Linked DNA regions of Homo sapiens: all the other regions are linked to region 2. The links are contacts of gene promoters, found by promoter capture Hi-C in blood cells and fetal thymus (Javierre and others, 2016). All regions are on one chromosome and are shown on one strand. The core of a region is centred on a gene start or on the middle of the fragment in contact, and the rest is flanking DNA. Distances in the headings are between cores, read along the strand shown.

Region 1 (2,700 bases), core at 64-2,563, 1.0 Mb after region 2:
AGAGTTTTAGAGGACAACTCATGAATGCGTAGAATTAGCATGGATTGGCTGTGGGTGTTTGTGGATCCAAGGACTGGCTTTCGTCTGGCCTGGACCCAGGCCTCTCCAAACCTCAGCCCAGCCCCATCCCAGCTGCCCTGCCTCCAGACCCTGCCCACCCTCTGAGATCCAAGGAACCTCTCATTATAGCTTGGCTTTCTGCTCTATGCACCCCAGGGTATCACCCAAGGTCATGTTTAGACTTTTCACAAGAATTGGACAATTAGAGCAGACAAACAGTATGAATAACAGCAGTGCACAGCTCAGAATCTTGAAGGAGGCTGGCGTAGAGGATGGTGTATGTGTGCAATTTCAAAGGGCTTTACCCACTGGAACTGCTGCAACCAGAAAGATGGAAGAAGTCAAGGTACTTTTTCTTATTTCCCCCCACCAAATACAGCTAAAAGTCATGGGTATTCTGTGTAGAATGAATACAAGGAGGCCCTAACATGTGCAGAGAAGCACAAGCTGGGAGCCTCAGGACCTGGCAACAGCATGGTGGTGAGTTCCATCTTTTTGCTTCGTGTTTGCCAAACTGGGTGCTAAAGAGTCAGCAACCTAGAAATACCAACAGGCTCAGAAAACAATCCCCCAAAAAAACCTGCTCCCTCTAGCCAGGCAAGGGGCATTCTGGAAAACTTTAGAAGATAACTGACCTACGCCATCAGACCACACAGGAAAAGACGAGGCCCCACACCACCCTGGCCAGCAGAGACTGAGGAGGGAGCCTAGACCTCCACCCTCACCCAGATGTACTGACTGAGATGCCACCCCTCCTTGGGAAGGTATTGGAGAAGCCCAGCTGGGGGCAAGGAAGTCCACCACAGCCGGGCCTCAAAGGAGGCTGCTGAGACAGAGGTTTAAATAAGGCCAGGAGCCCCACCACATAACCCCTAATATCCAGGCTTCAATCACAAATCACTCCACACCAGGATCCAGGAAAACACCGACCCTGATGAGAAGAGATGCAGAGACTAACCCAGGATGACACCAACAGCAGCATCATCTGAACAATTTGAAGCCACCATCACAAAAATGCTCAACGGCAAACACAACAGAATCAAGTGAGAAAATAGAAAATCTCTGCAGAGAAACAAGCCACAAAGAGGAACAAAATGGGAACTCAGGGTTGAAAACGCAACAGCCAAAATTAACTCAGTGGATGGCTCAACGCCAGAACAGAGAGGCTGGAGGGAAGAGTCAGTGAACCTAAAGATAAAATAATAGAAATTACTTAATTTGAACAACAAAGCAAAAAATAGACTTAGATAAAAATGAGCAGAATCTCGGGTATGTATATTTTGGCCTATATACATTTTGGTCTATATTTTGGTCTCTCTATTACAAAAGGCCTAGCATCCATGTCGTGAGAGACCCAGAAAGGAAGAAAGATGAGGGTGGAGCTGAAAAGATTTTCAAGGAAATAATGTTTAGAAATTTCCTAAATTTGGCAAAAGACATAAATTTACAGATTCAAGAACCTGAGCAAACCCCAAATGGCATCAATCAAAGCAAACCTATGCCAAGACACCTTCTATTGAGACTTCGGAAAACTGAAGACAAAGACAAAAATCTTGAAAGTGGCAAGAAAAAAACATCTTGGCCAGGCGCCATGGCTAACGCCTGTAATCCCAGCACTTCGGGAGGCCGAGGAGGGCAGATCACTTAAGGTCAGGCGTTCAAGACCAGCCTGGCCAACATGGCAAAACCCCGTCTCTATTAAAAATACAAAAATTAGCCAGGTGTGATGGCGCATGCCTATAATCCCAGCTACTAGGGAGGCTGAGGCAAGAGAATCATTTGAATCTGACAGGCAGAGGTTGCAGTGAGCCAAGATCGCACCACTGCACTCCAGCCTGGGAGACAGAGAGAGACTCTACCTCAAAAAAAAAAAAAAAAAACAGAAACAGGCTGGGTGCGGTGGCTCACGCCTGTAATCCCAACACTTTGGGAGGATGAGGCGGGCAGATCACGAGGTCAGGAGATCGAGACCATCCTGGCTAACACGGTGAAACCCCATCTCTACTAAAAATACAAAAAATTAGCCGGGCATGGTGCCACGCGCCTGTAGTCCCAGCTACTCGGGAGGCTGAAGCAGGAGAATCGCTTGAACCCAGGAAGCAGAAGTTGCAGTGAGCCGAGATTGTGCCACTGCACTCCAGCCTGGGCGACAGAGAGAGAGAAAAAAGAAACAGCATCTTACCTGTAAGGGAAAACCATTTTAATGACAGCAGATTTCTCACTGAAACCATGGAGACCAAAAGGAAGTGGCACAGCAATTTTCAAGAGCTGAAAGAAAAGAACTCTCAGCCCAGAATCTTACATCCAGTGAAAATATCCTTCAGAAATCAAGAGGAAATCAAGACATCTTCAGAAGAAAAAAAAAACAGAGACTTTGTCACCAGCAGACCTACCCAAAAGGAGTGATTAAAGGAAGTTTGCCAAACAAATAAAATGAGAAAAGAAGGAATCTCAAAGTGTAAGGAAGGAAGAACACAGTCAACAAAATATAGATAGAGACAATAGACCTCATCTCTTGAGTTTTCTAAATTATGCTTGACAATTGAAGCAAAAGTTATAACACTGAATGATGTGATTGCCAACGTATGTAGAGGAAATACTAAAAAGAATTGTTATACAGGGGGAGAGAACAGGGAAAGT
Region 2 (2,700 bases), core at 64-2,563:
ACAGAAACCAGCCACTTGCCAGAAACAGGCAGTAACCATAAACAAATTAATTACTAATATCAAATACTTACCTGGCACTCACTGAGTGCCAGACACTGTTGCAAACATTTCCTGTATCTCATTTAATCTTCACAGCACTGAGGTTTAGGATTATCCCCCCGTACAGGAAAATGGGAAACAGAGAGGTGCAGTTAATTTCCTAATCTCCCACAGCAGTAAGCGGCACCAGGTGGGTTTGGAGTCACCACATTTTTCAAGAACAGTTTAACAACTGGAGCTTCGAGTGTGGAATAATAGACACTGGAGACTTGGAAGGGTAGGAGAGTGAGCGAGGTGGGAGGGATGAGGAATTACTTAATGGGTACAATGGACATTATTTAGGTGATGGTTACACGGAAAGCCCAGACCTCACCACTGCATATCTCCATGTAACAAACCTGCACTTGTGTCCCTTACATTTATACAAAAAACTCCAAAAAAAACCTACAGTGTAATGTAGTACCCTATCCCATGCACTCACACTGCTAAATGTTGTTTCCAACGCACTCATCCGCGCACCCAGTGCCAGCTGCACCCTCCCGTTCCCTGCTAGCCTGACTTCTGGGCAGCAAGACCCTGCGGTTAGACGTGGGCTCCTGCCCACAGGGCTAGCTGGATGTGTGTGTCTTTCAAAGGCTGGACTTTACTCTCACCTCGCCCCCTCCACCCCCCAACACACACACACACACACACACACACACACACACACACAGTCCCTGGCAAGTCCTCAGAGCTCACGTGGTGCCCAGAGAAGTTGTGGGTGACACGATGAGGCACAAGCTCCATTCCCCGGGGGATGTAAGCTGAGACCCTACCTCTCTGTGCAAAGGCTAGTGCCACCTGCATGAGCTAGATTCAGGCAGGACCTGGAGACCCTGGAGGAAAGCAAGGCTGCAGGGTAGCCTTGGGTCGGGGAGGGAGGGACACTCTTAGGCCTCTTACTGAGGGCGGGGGTCCCGGAGAGCCATGGACAGGGCAACGCTCTACTAGGCTCCTTGGTTCATCCCAGATCAGCCCTTGGGCCCCTGGCATCTAAGGCAGCAAAAAGGCAAGGGGACACCGCCCGGGGTGGGGCACGCCACCGCGACAATGCCTCTTGGCCTTGGGTGGATAATGGCACCCCTGGGCAAACCCTAGGGGCGGGGCCCAGAGGCGAGGGGCTTCCCCAATCAGTCTCCGCCCTAGCGCCCTGGACTTCGGCCCCATTCCATTGGGTGAGGGTGGGGGCACGAAAAGAGGAGCGGGCTTGCGGCCCCACCGTGTCCCGCCTCCTCAGTCCCCAGCGACTCGCAGGGGCTGGTGGGGCTGGGGTCCAGCTGCCGTGCTCCCCTGCCCTGCGCCGCGCCGCGCGTCTTGGTAGGCGCTGCGCTGCCGGGGCCGGGTCCTGGGCCAGTGCAACTCCGCCCCCAGCCGTATCCAGCGGACTGTCCTCCGCCGCGCGCCCGGCACAGCATGGGGAGGCGCTGCTGCCGGCGGCGCGTGCTGGCGGCCGCCTGTCTGGGCGCCGCGCTCCTGCTCCTATGCGCCGCGCCCCGCTCCCTGCGCCCGGGTGAGTGCCCGCCGGCCGAGCCGCGCACCCCCAACCAAACCTGGCTCCTCGCGCTTTCCACCGCGGCCTGACCCCTCGACAGCGCGGGGGACACCTGTTGTCTCCTTCCTGGCTGGGGCTAGGGGTGGCGGGCAGGGGCGCTGGTGAGGCACAGAAAGGCTCTAGACGCCCCCGCGAGCAAAGGCTCTTGCTCCTCCTCCGGAGTTACCTCCCCACTCCCAGAGCGGTGACTGTTTTGAGTCCCACAGCCGGTGCCTGGAGACCGGGGTCAGTTGTGGGGGGTAGAGGACAATTGGCCAATCCGGGAAGGCCATCTCCCTTACCTTCACCCCCTTCCCCTGCGCACCCCACGGCCCCTGGACATGAGCGCTGCTGGGCGCATGCGCATAGGAGGGGAAGCTTGGGCCACTCGGTCCGGTCCCTTGGTTGTCCTACTGTGCAGTGGGTGCCACTCCCTGCTCCACCCTGAAATCCACACTGGGTAGGGCTTGGGACTCCTGTGCACCCACTCGTGGTCTGGCTGGGGAAACTGAGGCAGTTAGTCATGACTCCGCAGAGCTGAGTGCCCTGGGCTCCACCGGTGCTGAGTCTTTGCTCTGAGTCTCTCCTCAGCTCATGTGAAGCCTCCCATCAACCCATTTCACACAATCTGAAGCGGGCCAGAGAGTGGGGAGACAGGTGTGGTGGCAACGTGCTGGCTATACAATCTACTTGGGACTGGAGGGGCCCAGCCAGCGCCCGGGTCTCCTGACCTCAGGGCTGTTTGCCTTTCCTTGTATGTGGTATGCGTGCTGGGTGGGACGACTCAGTCCGCCTCCCCACCCCCAGTGTGGGCTCTGAGAATCCTGGGCCCCACCCTTGGAACCTGGCAGACACAGTCCCAGGGAGTAAGTAACTAGGTCCAGGGTGGGCGGGGATGTTGGGCAGTGGGGGTGGGAGTGGCCCAAGACTTGAGGATATCAGGGCCTGGGGAGGCCTCTGCCCACTCCCCCTGACCCTCACACTGCCCCTTGCCCCTTGTGTGTCCAGACACAGCAGGTCAGACCTGGATGCCTCCCCAAGCCCATGGGATAGGGCTGGGGTGTCTCTTTCCAGCACCCCCACAACCCCTT
Region 3 (2,700 bases), core at 137-2,636, 1.0 Mb after region 2:
CTTTGGGCTTTGCCAGCACGACCTGCGATGCTCTCCGGGCTGCAAGACCCACAAGGAGGTGTCTTGTATGATCATTTCTTGCTCTGCTAAGAATATTTAATTTTACATCTGTCACTTTCTGAAATTTTTTGGTCAAACTATAAGAGGATCATTGCCATCTGCATGAAGGAAAAAATTAGTAAAAGCTAAGACGCTATTTCATTCCTTATTTGAACCACGGTTCTAAGAGTCCCGTCTTATTTCAATCCACACTGATCTAGCAGTCTTGTGCTCATGGCTTCCCCAGACTAGAATGCCCTCCCTTTCTGCTCCTCCCTTCATTTCCCTGACATCTGCTCACCCTTCAAACTTGCCGGTTGGAAGGCCCTTGCCCCTAGCTTGGAGCTGGATCTCCTCCCCATGCCCGCAGCCCCTGGGTATCCCTCTGCCTGGCTCACCCCTCACCCACATAAGACAGGGCTCCTCTAGTTACAAGTGACAAGACTCAACTTAAGCTGGCTTGAGCCACAAAGGAGCTGTGTTGGCTGCAATGCCTGGAAACGCCTGCCATGCCCTGCTCAGGCTCGGATGGATCCAGGTGCTGGGCGGAGAGCTTGCTCCTGAGCCCTGCCCCTCTCCAAAGCTCTGCCATGGCCCTGATGGCCTCATCCTCAGAGACTCTCACAAGGGAGCTAGAGCAGCTCCAGAACCACATTCCACCGGCTCGGCAAACCCTGCAGTAAGCCACTTCTTTTTCTCAAGAATTCCAGAAGCAGCTCAGTGATTCCGATTGGCTCAGCCTGAGTCACATGCACGTTCCTCATTGGCTAGGCCTGAGCATGTTCCTACCAAGGAGCCCAAGCAAGGGCCAGTACCCAGAAGGGAAGTTGGGGGCATCTTAGAAGTCTGGGCAGGCAGGCCAGGTATGATGGCTCACGCCTGTGATCCTAACACTTTGGGAGGCTGAATCGAGAGGACCATTTGAGCTCAGGAGTTCAAGACCAGCCTGGGCAACATAGGGAGACCCCATCTCTATTTTATTTAAAAAAAATTATTTTAAGAAGACTGGGCAGGCAAAAAAGACTGGACTCCATGGCAACACAAGGTTGTAATTTGTTTTATTGTCTGTCTTCTATATCTAGATCACTATAGAGCATGGCACAGGCATACTAGGTAGGTGCTCAGTAAACATGTGCAGAATGCTATGAGTGGGAAGGACAAGATGTAGCCTGGGAGAATCCTCCTGATGACAGGGCCCAGGATTGCAGGGATGTCTGAAACTCTGATATGTGCAGGAGCCAGGCAGGAGACATGATGGTCCATGCCAGGAGGACCAGTCAGAACTGGGGGAGAAATGTCCCAATCTGAGACTGTCACATCTTCTGATTTTTTTTTTAATGAGAAGCCTAATATTTGGACAATATATGAAATCTTGTAATATTTAAAATCTGACAACTAATATTTTAAACATTGTGCAAGCCCACAGGATACCTGCATTTATGAGGATGATGAGGGTCAGCATTTGGAATTGGGAAGAGTAGGAACCTTCTGGAAGGCCACCGTCACAAGGGCTGCATCAATGTCTAGAGGAGGGTGCTTGTCACCCACTCCAGTCTGTAGTCAAGGGTTTCAGAGCCAGCCCCTGAGGCAGCCCAGGTGCTCACAGTGGGGAGGCCAATGGTGTGAGGGGTGTGCCCCACAAGCCCATGGCCCAGCTCCAGCCCGGGCAAGCCCCAGCCCATGGGGAGGGCCAGCTCCTTGGAGTGGCTCTCACATTTTCAACCTCGAATTAGGCCCTGTCTTCCCCAGAATACCATTCGCCTCCAGCCAAGCAGAACTGATCTTGCATCCCAGAGCCTCCCGGAGCCGGCTTTAAACACTCTTCACAGCAGGTTTTTGGATCTTGATTTGAAGAATGCATTCAGCTGAGTCACCGTCCCCAAACAATATGAGAAATAAATCGTTGGGCACGCTCCTGATCCCAGAGCCAATTACACGGGCCACTCCCCACAAGCAGCCCCTATACCCTCCAGAGAAGGTCCTGCTGAGAAACAGAGCATGGACAGTTCCCCGGATGGAGATGCTGCACTGGGCCAGGCCCTGCACGGGATGGGGTGGGGGCTTCATGGAAGCCAAGGAGGCACAATCAGCCCCACATTATAGGTGGGGAAACTGAGGCACAGAATACAGGAAGCCTGCCAGCTCACTTGAGGAAGTGGCAGAGCTAGGAGTGGAAACGAGTTAGTTCTATGCTCCAGAGGTGTGCACTCCAGACCCCGCTCTGCTATAATCACCCCAGGCGCTCTCAGTCCCATCCCAGCAATCCTTTCGGCATTTTCTCTACATCCTCCAGACTGGTTTTGGAGTGGCTACAGGCTCCTCATTTTGATGCAATGGCCCAAGAAACAAGGCTCGGGGCCCTTCCAGTGCTGAGGGTGTTTCTGTCAGATGTGACAGTGCGGCGCAGTGGTCAGAGGCCTGGACTCAGCCCGATTGCCTGGAGTCAAAACCCACCCTACCGCCATGTATTTGGCCATGTGACCTCACTCCCTCAGGTTTCCCCGTCTGTAAAGTGGAGCTGTATAACCCATGGCGAGTGTTTAGAATGCTGCCAGAACATAGGGTTTAGAACTACTTTCATATCCCCCTAAATCATCAACCAAAAACATGTGCAGTGCCAGATGAGCCTGCCTTCCTCTCCGATGTGACATGTGAAAGCCA
Region 4 (2,700 bases), core at 142-2,641, 1.0 Mb after region 2:
TCCCCTCCCCTTGCTGTCCTCCCGTCCCTTTCCCTACCCTCCCCTCCCCTCCCCTCCGCCCCCCTCCCCTTCCGGAGCCCGGCCCCGCGCGCCGCCATGCCTGGTGCCGCACCGCCCCCTGGTGCCCACGTCAAGCATGGCGCGGAGCGACTGCACTGTGCCCGGGCTGCACTGGGGGCGAGAGGCCAGGGAGCCCCTACGGCCTCCAGAGGCCGGGCGTTGGGGGGGCCGCAGAACGTCGGGGACTCCCTTGGGACCCACGCTCAGCTCCGCCCTGCCCGCACTCGGCTGGGTCCTTGGGGCCCCTCCCCTCTCTGGATCTCGCTTCACAGCCAAGATCACCAGCTGGGAGTGGCCAAGGTCACCAGCTGGGAGTGGCCGACCCAGCGCCAGGCGCCGTCCCGCAGCGCTGTCCCCGTCCCCGCAGGCCAGCAGGCTGCACGACTGTCTGAGCCTCAGTGTCCTCATCTGTAACACGGGCATCATCATATCCCCAGCTTCAATCTTCACGTCTCAAACCATTGAAATCTCAGCAGTAAGAATCCAAGTATCCAAGTGCCAAATTCTCCATCAATGTCTACATAGTTTTGGTTTAAGTCTGTCTTTTCATGCATTTCCTTTTAGCACTGGAATGAAGTTCAAGCAACAGGCCGGTCACGGTGGCTCATGCCTGTATTTCCACCACTTTGGGAAGCCAAGAAGGGCGGATCACTTGAGCCCAGAAGTTCGAGACCAGCCTGGGTAACACAGGGAAACCCCATCTCTACAAAAAATTTTTAAAAATTAGCCTGACTTGGTGGCGCACACCTGTAGTTCCAGCTACTGAGGAGGCTGAGGCGGGAGGATCGGGAGGATCGCTTGAGCACAGGAGGTCGAGGCTGCAGTGAGCCGTGATCACACCACTGCGCTCCAGCCGGGGCAGCAGAGCAAGACCCTGTTTAAAAAAAAAAAAAAAAAAAAAAAAAAAACCAGACACACAAGCGACAGTGAACCTCAGAGGCTGGCATATAAAAAGGGTGGTTTTTGAGAAGCAAGACCCTCCAGAAGTCAAGCTTTAGCCCTATCAAAAGATGTCCAAGAAACTTTTTTTTTTTTTTTGAGATGGAGTCTTGCTCTGTACCCAGGCTGGAGTGCAGTGGCACGATCTCAGCTCACTGCAACCTCCACCTCCCAGGTTCAAGCAATTCCCCTGCCTCAGCCTCCCAAGTAGCTGGAACTACAGGCATATGCCACCATGCCCAGCTAACCACACCTGGCTAATTTTTTGTATTTTAGTAGAGACGGGATTTCACCATGTTGACCAAGATGGTCTCGAGCTCCTGACCTCGTGATCCACCCACCTCGGCCTCCCAAAGTGCTAGGATTACAGGAGTGAGACAGCGTGCCCGACCAGAAACTATCTTTAAGCTAAAAATGCACTTAAAGAAAAAGGAAAAGTCAAAAGACAAATGAGAAACTGGGGAAAATGTTTGAAACTCATTACAAAAGTCTAGCACAGGGTCAGCAGGCTGTTTGTGTAAAGGGCTGTGTAGTGAGTACTTTCAGCTTTGCAGACCATGAGGGTATCTGTGGCAACTGTTCAGCTCTGCTGTGGTGGCAGAAGGCAACCACAGACAGTGAGTGCAGCTCTGTTCCAGTAGAATTTTATTTACAAAAAAATTTAAAAGGCAGTGGGCCCAATTTATCCCACAGGCAACAGTTTGCCAATCCCTGGTCTAACCTAATACATTAAAAGCTTCTAGAAATCTAGAAAAGACAACCCCCCCGAAAATTGGCAGAAAACTTGAATAGACAGTTTACAGAAAACTCAAAAGGCCCCTAAATGTATGACAAATGTCCAACTCCACACATGATAACAGAAATGGAAATTAATGACATCAAGTTACCATTTCTCACCTATCAGAACAGCAAAGAATTCTAGTGCTGCCGACAGCGTGTGTGTGTGTGTGTGTGTGTGTGTGTGTGTGTAACAGGTCCTTCCACATTGCCATGAGAGTCAAGGGAACACCCTCTGGAGGGGAAGCTGTCCATAGAAAGGGCTGTCATATTTACCATGTGACCCTGCAACCCTACCTCTGAGCATGGGTCTTGCAAACATCCTGGGCACCACGAAATGATGCGTCCTCACAGTTCCACCACGGGAGGCACTGCTGCCGTTTGTAATCATGAAAATATTGGAAACAACCCATCTAGGAGCTGGTTAGACAAACTCTGCTTTGGGCACACAGTGGAATACCGCACAGTTGTTGAAGACAGTGAGGAGGCTCCGTGGGCTGATAGGAAAATTCCACATGCTGTTGGGAAACAGGTCCTTCCACATTGCTGTGAGACTCACCACTACCGCTAGATCCCAGGGCCCAGAACAGTCCTGGCACATAATGGATGTCCAATAAATACATGAATGAATGAATGAATGAATGAATGAATGAATGAAGAATCTGCACACTCTAACACTTAGGGACGAGCCAAGAGAGGCTGCATTCCCTGGGCCATGCTAGTAGATGTTAGCAGAAAAACAAACATGCAGAACCACGCACACAGTATAAGGCTTTTGTGTAGGAATGGGGTGGAGAAATAAGAATGTCTATTTGTATATGTTTGTGTAAAGAAACATTAAAAGGATCCATAAGAAATCAGTACAAGTGGTCACCTGTCTGGGGCATGGGGTGGTCAGGAACAGGAAGGAGAGAAAGAATTCTC

The links. The method cuts DNA at HindIII sites, captures the fragments that hold promoters and counts their contacts. A CHiCAGO score of 5 or more calls a contact.
Region 1: a fragment that was not itself captured here is called in contact with the fragment with the promoter of CHST13 in region 2 in 9 of 17 cell types (total B cells, naive CD8 T cells, naive B cells and 6 more); the score reaches 14.3 in total B cells.
Region 3: a fragment that was not itself captured here is called in contact with the fragment with the promoter of CHST13 in region 2 in 1 of 17 cell types (M1 macrophages); the score reaches 5.2 in M1 macrophages.
Region 4: a contact is called between a fragment that was not itself captured here and the fragment with the promoter of CHST13 in region 2, in 15 of 17 cell types (total B cells, naive CD4 T cells, naive B cells and 12 more). The highest score is 33.1, in total B cells.

The regions. Positions count from the first base shown.
Region 1 is chr3:127,528,811-127,531,510 of GRCh38, forward strand. All of the region lies in intron 5 of LINC01471 (long intergenic non-protein coding RNA 1471), which reads right to left. Among named protein-coding and RNA genes, the nearest start is that of LINC02034, 7.2 kb to the right of the region's middle. The HindIII fragment of the contact is 5,147 bases long and covers 1-2,700 here.
Region 2 is chr3:126,522,842-126,525,541 of GRCh38, forward strand. CHST13 (carbohydrate sulfotransferase 13) reads left to right here and starts at 1,314. Exons shown (of 3, transcript NM_152889.3): 1 at 1,314-1,588. The coding sequence starts at 1,492. RefSeq lists enhancers at 638-1,138, 1,139-1,639, 1,700-2,200, 2,201-2,700. The HindIII fragment of the contact is 2,161 bases long and covers 1-1,985 here.
Region 3 is chr3:127,565,211-127,567,910 of GRCh38, forward strand. No RefSeq gene overlaps it. Among named protein-coding and RNA genes, the nearest start is that of MIR6825, 8.8 kb to the right of the region's middle. The HindIII fragment of the contact is 3,552 bases long and covers 1-2,700 here.
Region 4 is chr3:127,547,816-127,550,515 of GRCh38, forward strand. The region is part of intron 6 of LINC02034 (long intergenic non-protein coding RNA 2034); the gene reads left to right. Among named protein-coding and RNA genes, the nearest start is that of LINC01471, 11 kb to the left of the region's middle. RefSeq lists a silencer at 109-428. The HindIII fragment of the contact is 683 bases long and covers 1,051-1,733 here.